Linked DNA regions of Homo sapiens: regions 1, 3, 4, 5, 6 and 7 are each linked to region 2. Evidence: promoter capture Hi-C in 16 types of primary human blood cells and fetal thymus (Javierre and others, 2016). All regions are on one chromosome and are shown on one strand. The core of a region is centred on a gene start or on the middle of the fragment in contact, and the rest is flanking DNA. Distances in the headings are between cores, read along the strand shown.

Region 1 (2,767 bases), core at 176-2,675, 360 kb after region 2:
CCACAGTTCTGGAAGCTGGAAGTCCATGATCATGGTACCAGCTGATTTGGCATCGAGTCAAAGCTGTCTCCACTTCCAAGACGGCTTCTTGAATGCTACATCCTCCAGAGGGAGAAACACTATTCCTCACATGGCAGAAGAGCAAAAGAGCTGAGAGGGAGAGAGCAAAAGGGGGCCAAACTTGCCCTTTTATAACATACTCACTCCTACTCAACAGCATTAATCCACTCATGAGGGCAGAGCCCTGTCGATCCAATCACCTCTCAAAGGCCCCACTTCCTAAATATTGTCACAATGGCAATCAAATTTCAACATGAATTTTGAAGGGGACAAACAACATTCCAACCATAGTGCATGCACGCGTGCGTGCATGGGGGTGTGTGTGTGTGTCTGCGTATGGAGAGAGAGAGAGAGGGAGAGAGAGAGATTTTTTTTTTTTTTTACTTGGGTAGGATTTTTAATAACAAATGAGCAATATATTTTCAGCAGGCTATATATATGCTGTAAGATAAGCTTTATAGAAGCAGTACACTTTGTATCTTATGTTGACTACTAATAATGATTTTCATATAAAAGCACAGCAAAGCGATCCATGTACAAAGTAATATAACCCACTTAAAAGACTGCACAAGCAAATTAAAATAAATGGGGAAATTTCTCAGGGAATAAAATTTCTTGAAGATTAGAAACACTGTTCCTCAATAAATAAGCACCCCTGGAATGTTTAGCACAAAAACTCTATGCTTGATCGTTTTACTATTTCAGCAGGACTGTCAGAGAGGTTGGTCTTTGTGGAGTCCTGTTCCTTTCAGGTGTTAGAGATTTTAAGGAACTAGTTCAGATGATTGTGGGAGATGGTAAGTCTGCACATGCAGACAGGCTAGAAACCCGGGTAAGAAGTGATGTTACAGTCTGGAATCCAAAATTTGCATGGCTGGTCAAGCAGCCTAGAAACTCAGGCAGGGTTTCCATGTTACGGTTTTGAGGCCAAATGTTTTCTTCTTTGGGAAACCACATTTTTTTTTTTTAATCTCAAAGCTTTCAATGAATTGGATGAGGCCCACCCACATTATGGAGGGTAATGCTTTACTCAAAGTTTGCTGATTTAAATGTTAATCTCATCTAAAAAAATCCCTAAACAGCAATATCTAGACTAGTATTTGACCAAACAACTGGGCACCATAAGCTAGTCAAGTTGACACATAAAATTCACCATTATTAGTGTCCAAATATGGTCTGCCTTTGCTGCTCACTTAGGTCATTTACTCTTCTCCTTTGAACTGGGTTTACCTTGGACTAGCTGATACTGGCTTTGCACCCTTTGCCTGGTCCCTAAATCCTGTCATACCTTATAAGAATAGTCCCACACATTAGGTCTGCTCTTCTTCTACCCTTTAACTGCTTCCAGAATAACTTGAGTCTAAGCTACCAGACAAGCAACAGCAGGCACCAAACAAAAAGAAGCCAGTAGCCCCTGTACTCTAGGTCAGGAAATTCCTCTCCACTCAGGAAATTCCTCTCCTTCAAACTTCCTCATGCATTAGCTCTGCTGGCCCCGAAGTACTTGGCTTTGTGTACTGTCTCGCTGGTCTCATCTAGCTCCATGTCAAGCTGTTTGCCTTCACTCTGACCTCAGGATGTTGATCCAAATCTTCTCTGTCCACCAATGCTGGGAAAGAAGTCCCATGTCTGTAAACTCCATCCATCTGGGAAGGAAGACTAGATAACCTGTATGATGCATTACAGTTCTTAAAACACTTTCACATACACTACCCACTAACCGGTATTCCTTGACATTGTCTGAAAGCTTATAAAGATATCATCCACAAAACCTCACTTGACATGTAAGAAAATTGAGGTTCAAAAAGTGTAAGTCCTCAACACAAGGACATGTAGCTAGCCAATACACGTGACCCTGCTATGGAGCTGAAGCTCTGGGTCATTTCATTAAGCCAGAAGCACCTTGGCAAGGAGCTGAATACTACTAGACTAAGTACTACTACTACTAACAATGCCACCTTAGATTCATATGCAACTTAGCTTCCAAAATGATCACACAGGCATTTCTCACCTTCACCTAATTTTCTCAGGGTGGCTCAAAAATTCCCAACAGCATCCCTCTACCTACTGTAGGCTACAAAGACACAAAAATTCTCCTTCATCATCCATCTCAGAATATTAACTTGAAATTAGCCTACAAGGTCATCAAAAGCAAAGTTTTACAAGGTTGTTCATTAACTGGTGCATAGTGACTGAGAAACTAGACACAGTAGCTTTCATCTCAAGGGATGGGCCCACAAACCTGGCCCAGGCAGGGCAACCTGGCCCAAGGACTGCCCATATAGTCTTCACAAGTTATAACTGAAACTTGGCTGGGACTAGAATAGACCAGCCTGGGGAAATCTAAAACATAGAGACTAGGCAGGCCCATTATGGCTTTGAGGTTAGGGTCTCCAATAAGAGATGAGAAGTAGAGACTAATAATCTGTGTTGTGTAGGCCCAGACATGAGTTAGAGGGCAATGTCCCCACAGAGCAGATGAAGCACACCTTAAGAGGGTCTGGTAATAAGCAGCAGGCAGAGGTCCAGGCAAGGCAGGCCAGCAGCCTCACTGAGGATCAACAGTAAGCAACAAAAGGCTATGCTGGCTAGTAGGCTATGAGACATTGTGGAGTCTTGGACAGAAGCCTTAGACAAATATCTCCATGGATAGGCAGATGAGTGATCCCAGAGAATTCTGGCAGTGGACAAGCACAGACCCCAGGAA
Region 2 (2,860 bases), core at 279-2,778:
ATTCCCGCGGGGGTCTACCCCGGGAGACCCAGGCCCTCTCCCTAGCCAACTCTTTCAAAATTGCTTGGTCTCAGGGAGACTTTGCGCCTTTGTTCCAGCGCAGCCGCCTCTAGTAAGCTCGGCTCGCTCGCCCTTGCAGACAATGTCCCGGAGCCGGCCTGGGTTTGCCTACCCGTGAGCAGCACGTTCACCGTGGGGACCGCGCCCCCGGGGGGCACCGTGGTGCCAAACAACAACGACAAGCCACCCCAGCAAAAGCAGCCCCTTCTCCCCACGTCCCCCAGCCACGCTGTGCTCCCGCCCGCTCACACACACCCACACTCCGGGTGCCCAGGTCAGCCGCACCCAGCTGCAGAAGCGCGGCGGGGCGGGAGTGAATGCTCCAGCCCGAGGCGCGTGTTTGCACAGGTTCCGATGGCTTCAGGGCCGAGCTTTCTGGCAGGCTAATCCTATTAGTGTCTGCTCAGTCCGAATTTAATCACGGATCAGAATCAGACGACATCTCCAGCTTTCCAGGAGGCTTCGGACACACTGCATTGGGACGGAGCCTGGCCAAGCCAACTGGCCGAGAAAAGTATTTGGCGGCGCTCCGGGGGGCTTCCCGCCCGCGCTAGCCGGCGCCGGGCGCCCAGCTCTGTCGTCGCGCGGATGCTGGGGAACCTGAAGCGCGGACTCTGACGCAGGGGCGCCGGGGCTGCTCCGCAGGAACCCAGTCCGGGCTGCCCTGAACACCAGCTCAGCTCCGGGCTGCGCTTCCCAGGAGTTGGCAGGGGAGGGAGTGCAGGGCAGCGGATTCGGCGCGCACACTCCACACTCTCGCTCAGAGGCGGCAAACAGCGTTGGGGTGGGGAAATCCTTCATCCAGCGCCCACTGCCTACTGGCCTGGGCTCAGGCAGCTGGCATGTGAAGGCACCGTCGCCGGTGACACCCAGGCTGCAAGCGACCCGGGGGTGCTGGGACAGAGTGGGAGCCTCCCAGTAGCCCAGCGTAGCCCGAGGAGCTTGCGCCCTTCTACCTTTCCTCCCCGGTACGTGGCTGTCCCCGCCGGATTTCAGACGCCCGACGGGCGCCGAGCCAAAGGCCGTGGTCTCCGGCGTTTCGAGCTGCGCCCAGCCCAGCCGGGCTGGTTCGAGAAGGGGGTGGCCGCCCGCAGCGCCAGGTGGGCCGTGTGCTCAGAGCAAACTTTAGGGTCTACCGACTCGAAGCACCCCTGGGACCCCGATCCTCAGCGATGGGGACCATAACTGGGGGCTACAAGTGTACCCCGGAACCCCCAGAACAGTCAGACTTCCTGCACCCGCCCTCAGCCTTACCGTGCTGCAGAGCTCCGGCGGCGGCGGGGGCAGTGTCCGAGGGGCGGGCGGCCGCCGGCGCGGGCAGCCTGGACTCAGGCGGCCGCCAAGGAACCCAGCCCTGTTGCAGATCACCCCCTGGCTAGCGGCCGGTGCCCCCGCGCCCGCCCGCCGCCGGCCGCTTCAGCTCGCGGCCAAGTTCATGCTGGCGGCGCTGCAGTGGCGGCCTCAATCTGCTCGCTCCATTCCCACCGCCCGGCTCCGCGCCGCGCGCCCGGAAGGTGGAGTTTCGGGGGTTTAAGTTACTGATAGGCATTTCTCACTGCTGTGTCACTCGGGGAGGAGGAGACACGCACGCCGCACACTCACACACCCTCACACTCACGGCGACGAGCGGCTCCGGCCTTAAAGGGGAAGCCGCGCTGCCCTGCCCGCGACCCCGCCAGCCCGAAGCCTGGAAACTCAGGGTTTCCACTCCGGGATGGGGCAGCGGGCAGCCAAAGAGCTGCGGCCGCCCGAGGGGCCTCCCGGGCCCTCCCACCAGTCTTTAGAGGAGAAAGCGGCCGCAGGCTGGCTTCGCTGTTGCAGCCTCATTTCTCCAGTCGGCTCGAACCAGGGCAGCTGGGGAGGGATCGGAGGGGCGGAAGGGGCATCGGTGCACTCACCTTGGCTGCTCCGCACTCAGTGGAGGGTGGTCTGTGCCCCCGGCGTCAGCTGGCTTGCCTAGGCGGTGCGCTGGTGGAAAGAGGCGACAGCAGGGTTAGCGGAGCGCCTCCAGCAGACAGAGCCCGCCGGAGGGCCGCAGGCGGGGCCCGGCGCGCTTGGGAAACCCGCACGCCGAAGGTAGACTTTCCGCGTCTGGGGAAAACGAGCTGGTGAGCCGTGCGTGGCCGGGACACACGAAGAGCGAGCACGGAGAGCCAAAAGCCAGCGGTCATCAGTGACAGGGCGAGAGAGCGCTCAGGACCGAGAGACCAAGAAAGACAGGAGACCGTACGAGACACAGAGAAGGCAGAGACTGAGAGACAGATACCGAGAGAGGCACCGGCGGAGATAGAGGTAGAGACACGATGAAGGGAGAGGAGAGGAGAGGAGATGAGAGGAGAGGAGAGGAGAGGAGGAAATAAGGAGAGGAGGAGAGGGACCAGAGAACAAGAGAGCTTGCAAGAGGAATGACAGATCCCCAGAGGACCCTGAAGTGTCACAGGGACGGGAGTCTCATCACAAAGTAGCCTATTCAGCCCCCATCCCCCTTCCCATTTTCACCAGAGCCTGACCCTAGGGCTAGCGGCCAGGCCCTTCTCCTCCCCTCGCCCTGGGAGGGGCACTCACCTGCAGTGGGTGGCTGCTGGGTGGGTAGCGCCAGTCCCTCCGCCCACGCATCCGCTCACCAGCTCGCGCCCTGACTGCCAAACAGACCCGCTGTGGCGGCAGCGGGGACCAGGGCTCTCAGGTGGCAGTTAGTGAACTGCATTCTCTCCATCCCGGCCGAGTGCCCCACTCCCCACTTCCCAGTCCCCCACCCTTAGCGCGGACGCTGTCGGCGTCGCCCGCCAGTACGCTTAGC
Region 3 (2,867 bases), core at 359-2,858, 390 kb after region 2:
CATCCTCTCCAGCACCTGTTGTTTCCTGACTTTTTAATGATTGCCATTCTAACTGGTGTGAGATGATATCTCATAGTGGTTTTGATTTGCATTTCTCTGATGGCCAGTGATGATGAGCATTTTTTCATGTGTTTTTTGGCTGCATAAATGTCTACCATTTGACCCAGCCATCCCATTACTGGGTATATACCCAAATGACTATAAATCATGCTGCTATAAAGACACATGCACACGTATGTTTATTGAGGCATTATTCACAATAGCAAAGACTTGGAACCAACCCAAATGTCCAACAATGATAGACTGGATTAAGAAAATGTGGCACATATACACCATGGAATACTATGCAGCCATAAGAAATGATGAGTTCATGTCCTTTGTAGGGACATGGATGAAATTGGAAACCATCATTCTCAGTAAACTATCGCAAGAACAAAAAACCAAACACCGCATATTCTCACTCATAGGTGGGAATTGAACAATGAGATCACATGGACACAGGAAGGGGAATATCACACTCTGGGGACTGTGGTGGGGTTGGGGGAGGGGGGAGGGATAGCATTGGGAGATATACCTAATGCTAGATGACGAGTTAGTGGGTGCAGCGCACCAGCATGGCACATGTATACATATGTAACTAACCTGCACAATGTGCACATGTACCCTAAAACTTAAAGTATAATTAAAAAAAAAAAAAGAAAGAGCAACAACAGGTTTCTGAGTAAATTAAGAGTATAAACATGAGCTCTTAGGGGATGTTTAACCCAGTTCAGAGAACAACTCTTTCCAAGCTCTCTAACAAATTCATTTGCATATAAATAATTAGTGTGCTGATTTCAAATGACCTTTACCTACTCATTGGAGTATACTCGATCAAGACCTCTACTTGGCAATATTTTGTTAGCTTTTTATAATATCATTTCTGCTTGAAAATAAGAAAAAAATTATTATTTTAAAGAGATCTCATTAAAGAACATTAAGAAAATGTCTGTCCATAAATGCCTCATGCAGTAAGACATGAGGCAGTTTGCCCCATTATTCAGGGTATATAAACCAAGTCTCCACTTAGGATCCAAAATGCCCAGTACTTTAAGAGAGTCAAAGGGAAAGACCATGCGCTTGTATTGCTTTTACAATTTAAAAAATCTACTTAGTGTAGAAAATTTCAGAAAATAGGTAGATAAGTGTTCTAGTAACTCAAATTCTATCTGAGCCTGAAAGGTAACTCAGAGGTCATGCAGGATGACCCAACCCCTGACAACAAAACGCTCAGCATATGCCCAGAAACCTGGCTTTTGCTTAAGGATATCCAGAGCCTCAGAGCTTCCCATCTCCCAAAGCTCTTCCCATCATCCAACAGTCAAAGTATTAGTCTTTCCTTATATTGGACCAAATCTGTCTCCCCGTAATTCCTACATATTGGTCCAAGTTTCTAGGGGAAAAAAACAAAACAAACAAACAAACAACAACAACAACAAAAATGATGTTTCTATGGTTCTTTACACAGCACTTTCCACATACACATTCTCATTGGACTATCTTAATAATCCTGTGAAGCAGTTATTCCTACTACCCTTGTTTCACAGATGAAGACCTGGAGGCTAAGAGAGGCTCAGGAACTACTGACGGTTGCAGAGTGGTGAAGTGTCAGAAGCAGGGCTTGAACTCAGGTTTTCTAACTCCACCTTTTATAGCATTTTCAGTATCCCTTGTTGCCTCAAACATTAAAAAGAGAGAGAGAGAAATACGCTGCTTCTGCTTCCCCATGGGAACAGCCTTTGAAGTCGAAAGGGGGTAGAATTATTGAAGATGCACTCTCCACACATTCTCTCTGAGAGATGTCTTACTATTCACTTGGGTTTAAACTGCCCAGACATAGAGGCCTTGACCTGTATTTCCAGCCTAGACACATCCTGAGTTCCAGAACAAAATAGCTGCTCTCCCCTCTGGAAGTCCCACAGTACCTCAAATTCAGCAGGTTCCAAGCTGAATTTATCCAATTTTTTTGTACATTCTATCTCCACTGTTCATTCCTGAACTTGGTCAAAAATACCACCATCTACTCAGACAGCCATGCCAGAAACCTGGAGAATTACCTTAGACACTTTTCTCTCCCTCACCAATCCTCCCCACAACATCGTAAGAGTTTCACCATTTTGCATCTGCCTCTTCCTCTCTGTCCTCACTGCTACTGCCTTATACAGTCCACCATATCTCTTAGATGAATTCAGTGACCTTCAAAATGGTCTCTAGGCGTCTAGTAGCATCCCTTTCAAATCTACCTGCCTCCATGTAGACTGTCACCAGAGTGATGCAACAGGGCAGTCTATGTCACTCATTGCCTCCACATGTGACTCTCAAATCTAGCTAACTAAGAAAATGCCTGTTCCCCAGATGATTTCAATAATTCAGCAATGTGTAGTAACTAATGGTGTACAAAGCAAAGTCTACGTACTCAATGATCTGAATCTCACCTACCTCTCTAAGTCATCATTTCTGCCATTTTCCCCTTGGCAAGGAATACTCCAGCAATCCTAAAAACATACCATACTGGTTTGCACCTCTGTGCCCTGACTGGGGCTGATCTCTCAGCCTAGAATATCTTTACCCTTGGCCAATCTCCAATGAACCTTCAAAACTTAACTGAGGTGTCACTTCTTCAGGTAGTCTTTCACAACATTATCAGACTGGATTAGGTGCCCCTCCGTATGACTCCACGGCATCACACAAAGTTCTCTATCATGACACTTAGCATATTGTGTTGAAATTATTTGCTCATATTCTGACAAGCCTATAAGCTCTCAAAACCAAGGAACATGTTTATTCATCACTGATAAGTACCTGTCACTTAGTAGATGCTTAGTAAA
Region 4 (2,821 bases), core at 205-2,704, 290 kb after region 2:
TCTTATCTTTATTACTCATTGCACCATGTCTCTTTTCCTCTGGTTGCTTTTAACATTTTTCTTTATCCACAATTATTTTTCAATAATTTGATCATGATGTGTCATAATGTAGTTTTCTTTACATTTATTTTGTTGGAGTTTGGTGAGATTATTGGATAAAAGAATATTTAGTTTTCATAAAATTTAAACATTTCCCAGCCTTACTTTTCAAATATTTTTCTGCCCTCTCCCCCTCCTGCTGCTCCAATTATGCATGCTAGATCCCTTTATGTTGCCCCACGTCACTCATGTTATGTTCTTTTTTTTCAGTCTTTTCTGTCTGTTCATCATTTTGAGTAATTTTTATTGCTATGACTTCAAGTTGACTAATCTGCTGCAGTTTCTACACTGTTAATCTCATCCAGTACATTTTTCATTTCATATATTGTATCTGTCATCTCTACTAGTTTGATTTTGGCTTTTTTATATCTTCCATTTTTCTCTTAGCCATATCCATGTTTTCTCCACCTTCATAATCATATAGAGCATATTTATAAAAGCTGTTTTAACTTTCTTGTCTGCTAATGCCATCATCTCTGTCATTTCAAAGTCTATTTTTATTGATTGTCATCTATCCTGGTTAAGAATCATATTCCACAGGTTTTTTTTTTTGCATGGCCAATAATGTTTTCTTGGGTGCTGTACAAAGTGGATTTTACACAGTTGGGTGGTGGATTTTGTTGCATTCCTTTAAATATTGGTGGGTTTTGTTCTGGGATGCAGTCAACTTATATGGTATCTGATTCTTTCAAGGCTTACTTTTAAGCTTTGTTCAAGGCAGGTCCATAGCAGCCTTTAGTCTACAAATAACTAAGCCCTACTACTAAGACAATATCCTTTGGAACATTGTAGTTCCTACTCCAGGTATTACAGGTCTATTCCCAGACCTGTGTGAGCCCTGTTAATTTTTCAGTCTATTGTTTTCTCATGGTCTATCACTGCCCAAGGGTAGATTTTTTTTTCCTCATACATGAGCTGCAGGTCAGAATTCAGCCAAAGACTAGAGGGGACCCTCTGCACATCTCTGGAGCTTTCTCTATACAAATCTTGCTCCCTGCAATTTCCAGCCTTCGTGGTCTCCCTGGACTCTAATCTTTGTCTGCCTTACTGATCAAGAGCTCTAGGATTGGTTTTGGTCCTCTCTTTCTCTGCTGCAGCCTAGAAAATTACTCCAGGCAATAAGCTACGAAAATCATAGGGCTCACCTTACTTGTATTCTCTCTGTCAGGAATCACCATCTTGTACTTTTGTACTGCCTGTTGTCCAATGTCTAAAAGCCATTATTTCATATTTTCTCTCTGGTTTTCTAGTTGTTTAAGATGGAAGGTAATTAGTCCCTGATATTCTATCATGGATGGAAGAGAAAGTCTCCTATTATATTACTTTTTAAATATTCTTCCAAGCACAAAATGTTTAATACTTTAAAAATATACTTTTAAAAAGCATTTTTATTCCTCACAATATTTGGTTTTGCTACCATACATCTGAGCATCAAGAAAATAATGCTCTAGACCAGAGCTTCTCAACCTCAGCACTACTGACATTTTGGACAGGAAAATTCTTTGCTGTGGGAGGCTGTACTATGCACTGTAGGATGCTTGGCAGTTATGACAACCAAAAATATCTCCACTTATTGCTAAATTTACCCTGAGAGATCAGGCAAAATTGCCCTTGGTTGAAAACCAAACTTTCAATATTGTAGCAACCCAGAAACACACCCCCTTTTAAATAAAAGTTAGGCAGCCTTAAAAAAAAAATAACAGGGGCATATTGAAAGGACACAGGAGCCAACCTGAGAAAGTTCCCAATGGTCAAAATTGCAGCAATTTGAGCAACGAGCAATAAATATTGAGAGTATTAGATTATACGTTAAAGCATAAAATAAAATTTATGAATTCATTCTGATATAAATAATCGAATGAATAAGTGAATGAGAGAGAAAAATTCCAATTAAATAGATGTAGGAGGGATGAAGGAAGCAATATCACCATTAGAACACCACAGTGATAAATGCCACAGGAGGAATCTATCAATGGATGTGATAATGAGTGAGCAAAAGCTTAAGCAGAATAGGATGTTTGCGTATTCTCAAAGTATTTTTCCTAAAATATTTAGTAATTAACAAGGTGGGGAAGAGGGAATTATAAGTTGCTGGTAGGGAATCCTGGTAGAAATCACTTTAGCCAGGTGATTAAGGTTAACATACCCAGTAATACATATGAATATCATGTATCCCCTGATACAACAGAGTGAGAAAGGCACATCACCTCTGTGGTGGCCTTCCCAATAATGTATAACTTCAATCTAATCACGAGAAAAAAATCAGACCAAATCAAATTTGAGGCACATTCTACAAAATAACTGATGGGTGCTGTTTTGATCAAGTATCATAGACTGGAGGATACTTAAGGAGATATGATGACTAAATGCAAAGGGATATGCTGGATTGGATCTAAAATGGAAAAAAGACATCAGTGGAAAAACTGGTAAAATCTAAATAAAGTCTATAGTTTAGTTAATAGTATTGTACCAAGGTTAATTTCTTAATTTTGAGAACTGTACCATGGTTATGCAGAGGTTGACATCGGGTAAGCTGGCTTATGGGTGTGCTGCAGTTAGTTCTCTGCAGTGTTTTTGCAACTTTTTCGAAAACCTAAAATTATCTCAAAATAAAAAGGTTTTAAAAATTTGAGCATCGAGTAGTGATTCTCCCAGCATGCAGCTTGAGATCTGAGAATGGACAGACTGCCTCCTCAAGTGGGTCCCTGACCCCTGAGTAGCC
Region 5 (2,700 bases), core at 121-2,620, 330 kb after region 2:
ACATCTTTTATAACCATCAGAGTTATCAAAACTAAGAAATGAACTTTGGTACAATATGATTAACTAAACTAGATTTTATCTGCATTTTACCAGTTTCTCCACTACATTGCATTTTCTGTTCAGGGTCAAATTCAGGATTTCACATTGCATTGTCTCCTCCAATCTATGGCAGTTCATCCATTCTTTTATGTCTTTGATAATCTTGACACCTTGAAGAGCACTGATCAGTTATTTTGTATAATGTAGCTCACCAGTTTTCCCATTAATGTCCTTTTCATGTTCCAGGATGCAATCCAGAATATTATGTCACATTTAGTCATCATATCTTATTTGCTTCCAATCTATGGAAATTTATTAATGTTTCCTTGTTTTTCATGATCTCAATAATTTTAAAGATAAATGGTCAAGTACTTTGTAGAATACCCCCCAATTTGGGTTTGTGTAATGTTTTCTCATAATTAGACTGGGATTATATATTTTGGGGAAGGATAGCACAGAGGTGAAGTGCGTTTCTTATGACACAGTATAAGGGGTTCAAGATATGAACATAAACTTACCAGTGATGTTAGTCTTGATTCCTTGGTTAAGGAGATTTCTGCCAGGTTTCTCCACTGTAAGCTACTTTAAGAAGTATTTTATCGATATAATTGTAGAATCAGATGAAGTTGTAAATACAGAGAGGTCCTGTGAAACTCTCACTCAATTTTTTCTAATGGATACATCTTATGTAACTATAGTACTATACCAACATCAGGAAATTGGCATTGGTGCAAAGCATATGTGTAATTCTATGCCATTTAATCACGTCTGTATTCTTGTAACCACCACTGCAATCCAGAAATGGAACTATTCCATCACCACAAATATCTTCCTTATGCTACCTCTTTATAGTCACAACTCCCCTCACCAACACTGCTAACCTTTGTACAGCACCAATCAGTTCTCCATCTTTTTATCATTTTTGAGACTATTATATAAATGGAATCACATACTGTCCTTACAGTATGTGATTGTAAGGACAATGGCTGTGCTGCAGTCAAGTATAGGCTGAGGTACACATCCTGCACAGTATGACACAGTGGGATTGGAGCACAGGCGCACAATCCCATGCATTACATAATCACAGCTATGTAGCCATAACGTGGGAGGGCTCATCACCTGCCTCTGAGCCATTATGGTCTGTGAGGTGCATAAATGCAGCACCGACAGTGTGAAGAAACTGCTGAATAAAGCCATGTCCCACCTACCTGGAACCTAACAGTGACCTTTTGAGATTGCCTTTTTTCATTCAGCATAATGCCAATGAGATCCATCCAAGTTGTATATATCAGTAGTTCATTCTTTTTTTTTAATCACTGAGTAGTATTCCATGGTATGGATGTACCATAATTTTTTTAACCATTCACCTATTAACCAAACACCTGGGTTGTTTCTGTTTTTTGATCATTGAAAACAGCTCTGCTATGAACGAATTTCATGTACAGGTTTTTGTATGGATGTATGTTTTCATTTCTCTGAGATACACACCCAGTAATATGATTGCTGAATAGTATAGTAGGTGTATTATTAGTTTTGTAAGAAACCACTAAACCATTTTCCAGAGTGGTCATACTATTACCCATAAGCAATGTGGAAAGATCCATGCATGGAGGTATAGTAATATCACATTATGGTATTAACTTATATTTCTTTAATGGTGATGTTGATTGAACAACTTTTCATGTGCCTATTTGTCATCTGTATATCTTCTTCAGTGAAATGTCTGTTGCTGTTTGTTGCTTATTTTCTAATAGGATTTTTTTTACTCTATTGAGTTTTGAGAGTTATTTATATATTCTTTGTTGGATATGATTTACAAATACTTTCTTCCAGTTTATAGCTTGTATTTTCATATTTAAAAGGATGTTTCATAAAAACTTCCACAGAAAGTTTTTAACTTTGATGAGTTCCAATTTACCAATTACTTTTTCCTTTTATGGATCATGCTTTTGGTGTCAAGTCTAAGAATCTGTTGCCTAGCCTTAGAGCTGGAAGATTTTTTCCAGTTTTCTAAAATATGTTTAGTTTTATGTTTTAAAAACTTACATGATCCATTTTGAGTAAATGTCTACATAAGGTGTAAGGCTTAAGTTGAACTTTGTTTGTGTTGCCTATGAATATCCAGTTGTTCCAACACAGCACCATTTGTTGAAAAGTCTATCCTTCCTTCATTGAATCACCTTTGCATCTTTGTTAAAATTCAGTTGGGAATATTTATGTGGGTCTATTTCTGGGTTCTCTATTCTGTTCCATTGACCTATATATCTAACTCATCTGGCAATACTGCATGGTCTTGGTTACCACAGCTATGTAGTTAGCCTTAATGTTAGGTAGACCGATTCCTCCAACTTTATTACTCTTTTTCAAAATTGTTCTAGTTATTCTAGGACCTGTGTCTTTTCATATAAATTTTGGAATATTACTCTGATTTAAGTTCTGACAAGATCGTGGAAATCATCACTCCCATCCTTACAAGAAGAAGCTGGACAAACTTAAAATCAATGACTTTTCATGAATCCTTCAGACAAATGAGGTTGTAGGGCAAACCACCACCCTGAAATCTAGAGAGTCAGGAACATCCAGAGAGACATAGCTGCAATTTGCTTGCTTGGACCAGAGTCACTGGAGTCACAAACTAGGAATACCAAAACTGGTAATTTT
Region 6 (2,870 bases), core at 236-2,735, 310 kb after region 2:
GATTGCCCAACTGGCAGAAGAGCCAAGTAATACCCACATACTCCCTAAGCTGTGTGATTTTGAATAGGTTATTTAACTCCTCTGTGCCTTAGTTACCTCCTATGTAAAGTGAGGAGATAATATTGCTGCCTCACAGGATTGTTGTGAGGACCAAAAGAATTAGTGTATGCTAAATACTTACCAGTGTCCATACAAGTGTCTTCTTGTGCTATTGTAATTATTGTTATTATGTTGGTTATGCTGTATTCCTCAGCACTGACCATTTTCTAGAATATCACCGAGGCACCTAGGTCTGCGTGGAGAGTATTCTTCTCACCTTCTTGTCTGCCTTTGCCTGTAACAATGCCACTTTCCCAAGCCTGGGTCCTGGTTAGTGGCCATATCCAATACCAGGGGTCAGCCCTCTCTCCTCCCTGACTGGCCTGCTTCTGCCATTGAGGCCATGATTTCAGGTGCACGAGTCCAATGTTAGGACAAACAGCCACTTCTAAACCAAAGACCAAGTAAGCAAACCATTCTCTTTTAGGCTAGGAAGTAGGAGAAAGCATCATCAGTATGGTCTGAGAAGCAGCAGTCTTGGAGGAGTGAAGCAGACATACAAAAAGCTTGGCTGTGTCTATGGCAACTAGGTGCAGTTGTACAACCTCCCAAAGGCTAGAAAGCCCACTTCCCTTGATGGGAGGGCTGCCCTGGGAAGTGTTGGCCAACAGAACAGGGGTTGCTTTGTGGGGGATGGGGACCTGCCAGTGCAGCTCCTGACACACCAAAAGCGAATCCCAGCATCTCAGAAACTCAGCGTCACGTTCCAAAGAGAGAAAAAATGGCCTACCAAGAGCACTTGTTTATTGCTCAGAACCCTGGTGTAGCCCAGCTCTGCATATCTGCTGGCTAAGAGAATGTTTGACTAAGGGATGCACTCAGAGCTCATTTAGCCAATGAGCCTTTCTTCTACTGGTGAGAAAACTGAGGGCTTTTTCTGCCCTCTGCATGGCTTTTTAGAGGGGTTGCTCTAACCACATACCATACCATGAGCTTCACTCAAAACTCGTTGCAAACAATGCCAAGCCTTGGAAACTGTACCAAAGCACTCTCACCTTCCTGTGACTCACAGTGCTTGCTTTATTCCGCACTCACCTGACCAGTCATCTCAGTGACTGCTGATTTTGGTTCCTCAGTTTGGGCAATCCACTTGGACTTCCTCTGGCTTGTAGACTTGAAAATAAGTCTACAAGCCAGAGAAAGGCTTGAAAAATACCTGAGGGCTGTCCCTCAGGTATTTTTACTACCCTGGCTGTGCTGCCTCAGCCTGTGTCTGTAAAGAGAATCTCTCCTTCAGCCCAAGCCAGATCAGTCCCCTCATCTGCCTGCCCCCCAACAGATTTTAGATCTTGGGATTCAGACACTATGGCCCAGAAAAATAATGATAGTAACACAAGCTCCTTGTCAGAGGTGAGATATTTTGTAACCATTAAAATAAAGAACAGAAGAATGCTGGTTCAAATCTCAGCTCCAGCTCTGCAGAGCTACATGAGTCTGAACAAATTATTAAACCTCTCTGAACCTCAAATTTCCTCCTCCATAAAATGAAGACTAAATGTAATATTGTATGTACATTCCTGGAAATAGAAAGTGATCACTAAACTGTAGTTAATATTAGTAGTAGTAACAGATAATCTAATAACCTGTGCTTCTTCGCTATCTATCAAGCTGGTGCCACAGAGCAATTGTTCAGTATGTGTTGAGTGAAAAAGATGTTTCCCTATTCAACAGGCACAACCACCAGGTGGGGCAGGTAGAGAAGACTTTGGTCTCCCCAGCAATGGAGACCTGAGTCTGAATGGTTAAATGACTTGTCTCAAGTCACAATTACTGAGCAGCAGAGCTTGGATTGGGAACTTCTGTTTCTTGACTCACTGTTTGTTGTTTACTGTTTTAATTTGCCTGATCAAATTTAGGCCAGAGAGGAATTTAGAGATTATCTAGCATAATCTCATCATTTCAAGGTTAGAAAACAAGCCAGGGAAATCAAGGATGTTTCCCCTAGAGCTAAAGAGCTAGTCAGCTGGGGAGTACAGCATAGATCTCCTGACTCCAGCTTAGTGCTCTGTCAATAATGTAACAGCTTACTTTGCAAAAATCACCTCTCTGTTTGTAATTCAGCAAACACAGTCATTCTAGGTGCAGAGCTGCTATAGCTTTCTAGGAAAACACCCAAATGGTAACTGCAAAGGCCTTCTGCAATAACAGGCCCACCTTCAGTGTACCAGATTCATTCTTCATGGAAAGTGCACCTTTGGTGTGACTTGAAGGAATGTGTCAACATGAAGCCTGGTGACAACCAAGTGTGCCAACAGCCACAAGCTTCGTGGTGTGGAGTGCCATCTTTGAAGCAGACCCTACAATACCGCTGGTATGTAAAGCATGAGCTATGAGAAACAGCACCACTTGGCAGTTCCTTCTAAAGTAATAAAGACAGTTAAATGAGGCCCAAACAGCACAGGATATTATTGTTTACATGCAACCCTTATCCCATGGCTGTAGGAAATGGAGCCAAATTCCACAAGCCCTTTCATTATAAGAGTGCTCTGCAAGACAGAGGAGGCCAGCATTGCTGCTTGGTCTGCTGTTCTTTCTTGAAGTCAGCTTCATTTGAGAATGAAAAATGTTGTCCTTAGAATTCAAACTCCACAAAGGCACAATGCAGTACAGAAAGATAATGTTTTAGGATAGATTAATAATATTTATGAGATCTTTTAAATAAATTCCACTTAATTGACATGCACCAGCTCCTCCTTTCCAACAAAAATTACTTCTCAAAGAATTAATATATTAAGTTTTTACTCTGAAATAGCTCTTAAACACTCTTTCTT
Region 7 (2,842 bases), core at 112-2,611, 370 kb after region 2:
TATAGGAAGCTTGGAAATTAGTCTTTCATGCTTTCAGAAGGAGAGAATCAGATGGTAGTAAATACTAGTTATGTCTATGCAAACTGCATTTATCAAAACATCCAACTAAATGTTCAGCTACATATGTAATGGAAAATAGTATTCTTTTAGCAAGGGAAAAGAAAACGGCTAGGATAGATAACTAGCAGTGTCCATCATATACCCTAATCTTAAGATGAAGAATGTGAGACTTAGAGAGGTTTAGTAATGGATTAAAGGTCATATAGTAAGAAAGTAGTACACTCAAATTTGAACCCTGGTCTGACTCCAAAGTCTATAATCCTTTTGCTCCAGCAAACTGCCTCCCAAAGACAGGAAGAAATTGTTTTGTGATCATCCACCACTCAGAATTATCCACAATGGTCCACAAAGTCTATAAAAGAGAACTTAGAGCTAGAGCTGGCTACTGACCACTGCTGCATCATATAAAACCAGAGATGTCAGAACAGGAAGGAGTTCTTACATGACAGACCAGACCACCTATCGCCACCTTAGTACTTTTCAGATATGGAAACTGAGGCCCATGATGTGGAGTATGTTGTTCAAGAATACATGGATGATAATGAGACAGTGCTACCATAACATTTGTATCAAGCAGGGTCTTGGCAGGAAACACAGCACATTCAAAAGGTGTAACTGAAGGTAGGGGCAGGGTTAAGGGAACCTATAAGGTAAGGTGCATTGGTCCTGGATCAGTAGCAGGAAGAAACCACTACCATCTCTCGACCTGAAGTGAGAAGGAGAGTAATGGTTACCAGAACCTGGTAAAAGCTGAGGCTGTCAGAGAGGGACAACCCAACACAAGCTATGGCATGAAATAGTGGAACACAGCCACTGCCAAATGTGACCTGGCAGAGAAGAAGCTGGAGAAGTAAATACTGAGATCTGGCTTTCCTCTCAACCCTCTGATCCTTTCTCCCTCCCCCACTGATACGTTGCATTGTCAAACCTAACTGGAAGCCAGAGGACAAGGGAGCCTGGTTGATGCAGCCCATAGAAGTCAGTCTCCAGGGGCCCAGAGCAGGGTAAGGAAGGGTAGAGAGTGCAGCTGGAGTGGGAAACTCAAGAGTATCCATTATGGTGACTTTCCTTTCTTTTCACTGATTCATTCATTTATTTATTTACCATGCATAGTGTCAGAAAGTGCTAAACACATTTTAATTTCCATCAACATTCAAGTTTTGTCTTTAAAATTTGGTGGTGAAAGCATGTCATCTATCCAAGTATAAGGCTAGTTTTATTTCAAAGAACAGGGGTAGATTTTAAGGCCATGCTCAGTTTAGCATGAGGTAAAGAAAACTACATTTAAAAAATTCTACCACAGCTTGACTTCTGGTTAAACATGGCAGACTGATAACACATGATTATCTCTCTCCCTCCCGAAGTCTCATTAATGGAATTAAAACAATGCAAATAAAAAGTGTGTGTGTGTGTGTGTGTGTGTGTGTGAGAGAGAGAGAGAGAGAGAGAAGAGAAAGACAGAGAGAAAGAGGTGTTAAGTCCACGCAGACTAAGAAAACAGGGAAGGAGACATTAGTGGACAAGAATTATCCATAAATGTTTCGAAGACAGGAAATGATGGGAAGAACGAATATTTATTTCAGAGAGTAAAGGAAAAGCAAGTTAGAACCTAAGTGCTTGCAGAAAGACATGCCAATGAAAAGTGAAACAATTAGTCCCCATTGAATCCTGGGAAGGCTTAAGGGTTTAGAAATACCAAGTACCACAGAAATTGGGATAAGACACAGGAAAACAGGAATTAAAACTCTGTATAGGGAGCAGCAGGCTCCCATATATACTTTTCAGCATGCAGCTACCTAGATAACTATTTTATCCTCTCCCTTTGCCCCCAGGAAACAAGAGAGTTCCACTCTTCAATATGAATAGACAGCCAAGGATCACAAAACATTTGAGGAACTCTTCCAATATGAGAGAAGTCAAAACAAACAAACAGAGAAAACAGAGATGATACAATAACAGAAGAAAACTTAAAACTATAATTAATATCCTCAGAGATAAGAGAAAATTTATATCCATAAGCATAAGCAGGATACTACAAAAAGGAAGACACAGAAAACAAAGGAATTTAAGGACACTGAAAATATGATAATCAAACTGCAAAAAAGTAAAAGGATTAAAATAAGAAAATCTCCCAAAAAGAAGAACATAAAGACCAAGAGAGGAAAAGACAAGAAAAGCAGAGGAACAATATGGGAGGTCTAATATCCAAATAATTGAAATTTCAGAAAGAAAAAACGAAGGGGAGAAAATTATCAAAGTCATAATGTAAGAAAAATAAGGACATAAATTTCCACATTTAAAGCTCCTAAGGAAGGATCAGTAAAATGAATGCATAAAGATCTATACCAAGTCACACTGTCAAAACATGTCTGAATTATAAGGGCTAAAAAAAAAAAGAACCTAAAAGGTTTCAGAGCAAAGGAAAAAAACAATGCTTATACGGAAGACTCTTATACCAGAACTAGATTGGCATCAGCCTTTTAAATAACAACACTGAAAACGAGGAGACAATGGAGCAATGCCTTCAAAATTCTGCGAAAAACCAATTCATAATTTTATACGCAACACAGCTATTTATTTCCTTTGGCAAAAATATAATTTTACCTGTGGAAGGATTATTTTTATTTTCCAGGCTTATTGACATCAAGCTTGGCCATAAGACTTGATTTTCCAATGACATGTGAACAGAAGTGATGTGTACCACTTCAGAGCAGCAGCTTTGACAGCCAACACTGATTCAATCAGTGCTATTTTTCCTCTGCCATGAGAACTGCTTCTCCTA

Evidence for each region. Contacts are between HindIII fragments. The CHiCAGO score rates a contact against its expected background, and 5 or more counts as called.
Region 1: a fragment that was not itself captured here is called in contact with the fragment with the promoter of MAMLD1 in region 2 in 3 of 17 cell types (M0 macrophages, M1 macrophages and M2 macrophages); the score reaches 7.4 in M0 macrophages.
Region 3: a contact is called between a fragment that was not itself captured here and the fragment with the promoter of MAMLD1 in region 2, in 7 of 17 cell types (M1 macrophages, M0 macrophages, megakaryocytes and 4 more). The highest score is 15.8, in M1 macrophages.
Region 4: a fragment that was not itself captured here is called in contact with the fragment with the promoter of MAMLD1 in region 2 in 2 of 17 cell types (M0 macrophages and M1 macrophages); the score reaches 6.4 in M0 macrophages.
Region 5: a contact is called between a fragment that was not itself captured here and the fragment with the promoter of MAMLD1 in region 2, in 1 of 17 cell types (M0 macrophages). The highest score is 5.0, in M0 macrophages.
Region 6: a contact is called between a fragment that was not itself captured here and the fragment with the promoter of MAMLD1 in region 2, in 2 of 17 cell types (M1 macrophages and M0 macrophages). The highest score is 7.9, in M1 macrophages.
Region 7: a fragment that was not itself captured here is called in contact with the fragment with the promoter of MAMLD1 in region 2 in 3 of 17 cell types (M0 macrophages, endothelial precursors and M2 macrophages); the score reaches 6.9 in M0 macrophages.

The regions. Positions count from the first base shown.
Region 1 is chrX:150,006,313-150,009,079 of GRCh38, reverse strand. The region is part of intron 9 of EOLA2-DT (EOLA2 divergent transcript); the gene reads right to left. Among named protein-coding and RNA genes, the nearest start is that of EOLA2-DT, 69 kb to the right of the region's middle. The HindIII fragment of the contact is 769 bases long and covers 1,041-1,809 here.
Region 2 is chrX:150,361,985-150,364,844 of GRCh38, reverse strand. MAMLD1 (mastermind like domain containing 1) reads right to left here and starts at 1,528. Exons shown (of 8, transcript NM_005491.5): 1 at 1,315-1,528. The HindIII fragment of the contact is 7,703 bases long and covers 1-2,860 here.
Region 3 is chrX:149,971,647-149,974,513 of GRCh38, reverse strand. All of the region lies in intron 9 of EOLA2-DT (EOLA2 divergent transcript), which reads right to left. Among named protein-coding and RNA genes, the nearest start is that of EOLA2-DT, 35 kb to the right of the region's middle. The HindIII fragment of the contact is 3,804 bases long and covers 1-2,867 here.
Region 4 is chrX:150,071,540-150,074,360 of GRCh38, reverse strand. No RefSeq gene overlaps it. Among named protein-coding and RNA genes, the nearest start is that of EOLA2-DT, 130 kb to the right of the region's middle. The HindIII fragment of the contact is 1,293 bases long and covers 808-2,100 here.
Region 5 is chrX:150,029,400-150,032,099 of GRCh38, reverse strand. No RefSeq gene overlaps it. Among named protein-coding and RNA genes, the nearest start is that of EOLA2-DT, 92 kb to the right of the region's middle. The HindIII fragment of the contact is 9,213 bases long and covers 1-2,700 here.
Region 6 is chrX:150,049,502-150,052,371 of GRCh38, reverse strand. No RefSeq gene overlaps it. Among named protein-coding and RNA genes, the nearest start is that of EOLA2-DT, 110 kb to the right of the region's middle. The HindIII fragment of the contact is 1,756 bases long and covers 608-2,363 here.
Region 7 is chrX:149,988,384-149,991,225 of GRCh38, reverse strand. All of the region lies in intron 9 of EOLA2-DT (EOLA2 divergent transcript), which reads right to left. Among named protein-coding and RNA genes, the nearest start is that of EOLA2-DT, 51 kb to the right of the region's middle. The HindIII fragment of the contact is 2,699 bases long and covers 12-2,710 here.